Regions from separate parts of the Homo sapiens genome. Here region 2 is linked to region 1. Evidence: promoter capture Hi-C in human tissues and cell types (Jung and others, 2019). All regions are on one chromosome and are shown on one strand. The core of a region is centred on a gene start or on the middle of the fragment in contact, and the rest is flanking DNA. Distances in the headings are between cores, read along the strand shown.

Region 1 (2,700 bases), core at 116-2,615:
CATACACTCTTCCCAGTTTGGAATGACCTTTTTCCTCTGTTAGAGTCCCAACCAATTTTTTTTTTTTTTTTTTTTTTTTTTTTTTTTTTCCTGAGACAGGGTCTCTCGCTCTGTTGCCCAGGCTGGAGTGCAGTAGTACGATCTCAGCTCACAGCAACCTCTACCTCCTGGGCTCAAGCCATCCTCCTGCTTCAGCCTCCTGAGTAGCTAGGACTAAAGTGGTGTGCCACCACACCTGGCTAATTTTTGGCTTTGGTTTTTGTAGAGACGGGGTTTTCACCATTGTTGCCCAGGGTGGTCTCGAACTCCTGGGCTCAAGTGATCCGCCCGCCTTGCCCTCCCAAAGTGCGGGGACTGCAGGCGCGAGCCACCACTCGGGCCCCAACCAATCTTTTAAGATCCTGCTCAAAAGTCTCCGTCCCTGGGAAGTCTTTTCTGAGGCCTCTGAACTCACTTAAATGGAATGTGCCCCTATTTGGCACCTGGTCTCCTCCACTGAGATCGGGGCTTCTTGGGCAGGGTACGCTTAAGGAGAACTGGCTGCATTGGGCCACCTGCCTTAGCAGGGCCAACCAGCGGAGGAGCTGGCTGGGTGCTGGCCCGTCCCAGGGGCTGCGGAAGGGTTAAGAGAGGGCTCCAGAAGCCTGAGAAAGCCTAGGTTCCGGTTTAACCTCGGATCTAGGGCCACTGAGTCAAGACGGGACTTGCGGGGCCGAGGGCAGTTCTCCGGTGATCACCCAGGTCTCCAGGGCAATGAGAAAAGGAGGGGGCACTGCAGGAAACGTACAGGGGCGGTGTTCCTACAGGTCCAGAGCTCCTCCACCAAACTGGGTCCCAAACAGCTCTCCTACTTTCGGGTGGCCTCGGGAACGCAGGGGGAGACTTGCCAGAACGCCCGCCATTCAGCGCCCAGCTCCGTCCCTCTCGTTCTCGGCCGGGATCTCCCCGCGGCCCTTGCACAGCCTCCTCCCCCGGCCCGCCCTGCCCCCCGCTCAGCGCGGCCTCCCAGCCAGGGCGCAGGGGTTATCAAGCCCGCTAGGCCTTTACCCGCGGCTGCCCAGTTCCGGGAGCCGTCGGCCGCGGCCCAGAGGGGTCGGCTGGGCGGACGCCGGCGTCTCCCGCTAGCTCCCAGAGTCCCCGGCTCCTCGGCGTGGCGCTTCCTGCCCACCTCCGCCCGCCTGCGCGGCCCTGGCACCTGGCAGCGGGCGCGAAAGAGGACGAGCCCAGGCACTCGGGCCTGCGGGGTCCTGGGACGAGGGGGTCAGCGAGAGGGGCCCGGTGCTCCGGAGCAGGCGCAGGGCTGGAACCCCGGCGCCACCCGTCCCGCCATCGTCCCCCCTCCCTGCCTCCATCCCCGCGGGCACTGCCGCTAGTACTGCCCTCTGCAGGTTCCCAAGCGCCAGTGACACCCAGTGACCTCACTAACCACCTCCCAGGCTGGGCTGCTTGTTAGGCCCATTTTACAGATGAAGAAACTGATGCTCAGAAGGGTGAAATGACTTGTGCAGGTTGATTCAGTTAGGAAGTGGATGAGCCAGAACAACATCCCGGGCCTGAGTCTTCCTACCTTACCCCTGGGCCTCCCTGAGGCGCGGTGTCCAGGGGATTCTTCCCTCTGTCCCTCTCCGCCTCCCCAGCCTACCTTCAGGCAGAGACCTGAGCCTAAGGCTTCCTTGGGTTCTGCCTTATGTATCCGGTCCTCTTCAGAGCCCAGACCTATGTGTGTGGCTGCTGGTAACCTTGGTTAAGAAAGAAGGAAGAATGGGGGCTGAAGGACAACTTGCACCCCAACCTGCTCTTCGGGTCTGACACCCATTCATGGCCTAGCCCTGGGGCTTCCCAGTTCCCAAAGCCCCCACCCTTATCCCTACACTTCCACACACTTCCACACCCTGGGCTCACGTAGCCCAGAAGGAGGAGCCACCCACCACCCACAGCCAGGGCACGCCTTCGTATGCAAGCATGAGTGTACGATGTTCACACAACAGAGCTGTGCACTAGGGCACCCACAGAGAGGCTCTCCAGGGCAGGGCTGGGAAGAGGACTTACTGAAAACAATGTGGATGTTTCATTTAGACATTTGTTCATTCGTTGTACTGTGGTATTGGGTAGCACTGAGCACCTCACCCCCACAAGCCAGGTCCAGCACTAGGCCCTGGGCTGCCAACCACAGCAAGGCAGGCACCTCACTTTAATGGAATCAACTACCACATTTACAAATGATGTACTTCAAGGCCGAGGCAGGAGGATCACTTGAGACCAGGAGTTTGAGACCAGCCTGGGTGACATAGTGAGACCCTGTCTCTATTTAAAATGAAAATAGAAAATAAAAATATAAAAAACAGACAAACAAATGATGTACTTCAGTGGCAGAGGCAAGGCATTAGGAGAGTCTGGAAAAGGGAGTGCAGAGGAGGTAACATTTGTACTGGATCTGAAAAAATAAATCAGAGGACCAGCCGCGGTGGCTCACACCTGTAATCTCAGCACTTTGGAAGGCTGGGGGTGAGGGCAGATCTCCTGAGGCCAGGAGTTTGGGACCAGCTCAAACTCGTCACCATGGCCAACATGGTGAAACCCCCGTCTCTACTAAAAATAACAAAAATTGGCCAGGCATGGTGGCTCATGCCTGTAATCCTAGCACTTTGGGAGGCCAAGGCAGGCGGATTGCCTGAGCTCAGAAGTTCACGACCAACCTAG
Region 2 (2,700 bases), core at 120-2,619, 260 kb after region 1:
CCCCGGAGAAGCCGGCAGACAGGGCCAGGCGGCAGCAGCAGGACAGCAGAGCTGAAATAAATCTGAGCTGGTGTGGAATGAGGGGGGATAAATATCCTCTCCCGTGATGTGATCTTTCCAGCGGCTATTAATAGGTCTCCGGGGAGGGGGAGGCGGCGGGGGGAGCGGGCTGGAGCTTAAAGGGCCCGCAGCCTAGGCTGCAGGAATCCTTGGCTTCAAGCTACACTCCCCATCTGCTTGACACACCGCTCCCCTCCCCCTTTCCTCCTGCTTCTGCCTGCCGGCCTGGCCTGCCAAGCCCCCCTCCTCAGGCCTTCCCCTCCAGCTGTCTGGACCAGTGGGTAGCACTCCCTGGTGTGCGTTTTCCCACTGTCCCTGGGGAATGAGACCCGGGCATGTGCAGTGACCCCAGGTCCTGTGGCCCTTCTCTGCTGGTGTTGGGACATATGGGAGTTGAGGTTTGAGACCTTGGAAGGAGTCTGAAGACAGCAGATCTTAGAAGAGAGGATGCTTAAGTCTGATACAGAGGACAGGGTTGCCACAGAAGCTTGCAGGCTGATGGGTGTTTTGGGGCTGAGGTGGGTGAATTCTGCCAACTCTAGGCCCTGGTTTCCATTCAAATTGTGGAGGCTAGGGGGTGGAGGGTTTCCCCATCTCCACTCCCCAAGGTGGATGAGGGCTTCAGCCCTTGTCTGAGGAAGCCATGGAGGGAGGTAGAGAATAGCTGGTGGTGGTCTTGAGATACCACCCCTTCCCCCCACCCTCCCCCATTGTTAGGGGAGGCAGGATGGGGTAATTAAGTTGCAGGCATGCCTAGCCCCTAGCAAGGTTAACTTTTCACATTTCTCCCACCTCCTCCCAGGTTACCCCACCCCAGGAGGAGAGAAGCTCCAGGGAGCCCGCCGCTGTCCCCCCGCGGTCATTGCCCCCCTGCCCCAGCCAAGCCAATGCACCCAGAAAATAAATTGACCAATCATGGCAAGACAGGGAATGGCGGGGCCCAATCTCAGCACCAGAATGTGAACCAAGGACCCACCTGCAACGTGGGCTCGAAGGGCGTGGGGGCGGGGAACCATGGGGCCAAGGCCAACCAGATCTCGCCTAGCAACTCAAGTCTGAAGAACCCCCAGGCAGGGGTGCCCCCTTTCAGCTCGCTCAAGGGCAAGGTGAAGAGGGACCGGAGTGTGTCTGTGGACTCTGGAGAGCAGCGAGAGGCTGGGACCCCATCCCTGGATTCAGAGGCCAAAGGTACCCCATTTCCTCATCCCTAAGACCCTAGCATCTCCCATAGTCCAAGGCTCAGATGTTCTGGGAGATCACCTCTCTGCTCCCTGCTTGTCCAGTCCTCATCCCACGTTCTTCTCCAGTATTTCTGCATGGGTACCTTTCAACACCCACCAACCAGATCATTCGGGATTGGGGTTGGCCATGATGCCACCCATGGAGGGGCCACACAGAGTGGTCGGACTTCTGGACTCCTTCCCCTCCTGCTTTCCCACCAGAGCTCCAGAAGGGGAGAGGGAGGTGCCATGGAGTGAGGAGCAGACCCCAGACCCACACACTTCCAGGAGCCTCCGTATCCCGGCTGGTGGGAGCCCTTTGGGAGCAGGCACTGGGGCCTGGAAGAGTAGCAGCAGCTCCCCCTCCCCTCCAGCCCTAATTAGAACCAGTTGTGGTTGGGGATTATGCTGTACTTGGTGTTGGGGGGGAGGGGAGACAGGCATGGGGCTATAGAGAGAAATCAGAAACAAATGGTGGCGTGGTGGGGGCCACGGGCTGGCGAAGTGCCCACCATGGCCTGGGCAGTGCCCTCTAGGGTGGGGCATCTTAGAGAATGGATCTGGGAGGGACCCTGGGTGTGGGAGAATAATGGGGCCTCTAGGCACTCACTCTTTCCTCCGTCCTGCCTGGGCAGAGGTGGCGCCGCGGAGTAAGCGGCGCTGTGTGCTGGAGCGGAAGCAGCCGTACAGTGGGGACGAATGGTGCTCTGGACCGGACAGTGAGGAGGACGACAAGCCCATTGGGGCCACCCACAGTGAGTGCCTGTCGATGCCAGGGTGCTGTAGCCCGTGATGTTCCTGGGGGATGGACTTGAGAGGACTGAGCCTGGGAAAGAAGTGAGGACTGGGAGTCCTGGATTTTTCTCTCCCATCCTACCTCTCAGACTCTGTCCCTCCCTACACTGCAACTGCCTCGCCTCTGCCTTCCAGGTGCTCAGTGACCCCCTCTCCCTAGGGACCCTAGGTGGGGCAGAGTGGAGTGGCCTCCTTCTTGGTCACGTCACCTGCACCTCTACCTGTGAATTCCTGGCCTATGCTGCCACCTACTGGTTAGTGGAGGGAGGGCGGTGAAGCGTCCAGGGACACTGGGAGCCGGGCAGTTGGCTCTGCTGTGCAAAGCCCTGCTAAGCCTGGGTGTGAGTTGCCACTTGGCCGTGTCTCTAGTGCCCTTCCCTAACCTCTAATTGACTCCTGGCAAGTACCCAGGGTGTGTCACCAGGACAAGAAGTGGGTGTGGAGGGATGCCCACTCCTCCTCTGATTCTTTTATGGATTCGCCTATATCTTGTCCTTCCATGAGTGATGGGGGAGAGCCAGATGTAACCCCTGCCCCTGGGAAGCTTGTACATATTTTTTTTCCCTCAAAGTTTACGTTTACATCTTTTTGAGGAGAGAGACATAAGAAACTAGCCAGAGAGGCT

The links. The method cuts DNA at HindIII sites, captures the fragments that hold promoters and counts their contacts. A contact is called where the count stands out against the background at its distance.
Region 2: a contact is called between a fragment that was not itself captured here and the fragment with the promoter of NLRX1 in region 1, in 1 of the 25 tissues and cell types used here (liver).

The regions. Positions count from the first base shown.
Region 1 is chr11:119,167,390-119,170,089 of GRCh38, reverse strand. NLRX1 (NLR family member X1) reads right to left here and starts at 1,365. Exons shown (of 10, transcript NM_001282144.2): 1 at 788-1,365. RefSeq lists enhancers at 1-569, 570-1,275 and a silencer at 847-1,456. The HindIII fragment of the contact is 23,273 bases long and covers 1-2,700 here.
Region 2 is chr11:118,906,818-118,909,517 of GRCh38, reverse strand. It overlaps BCL9L (BCL9 like), which reads left to right. Exons shown (of 10, transcript NM_001378213.1): 4 at 863-1,248; 5 at 1,916-2,035. Among named protein-coding and RNA genes, the nearest start is that of MIR4492, 2.5 kb to the left of the region's middle. RefSeq lists enhancers at 1-257, 1,986-2,055. The HindIII fragment of the contact is 6,400 bases long and covers 1-2,700 here.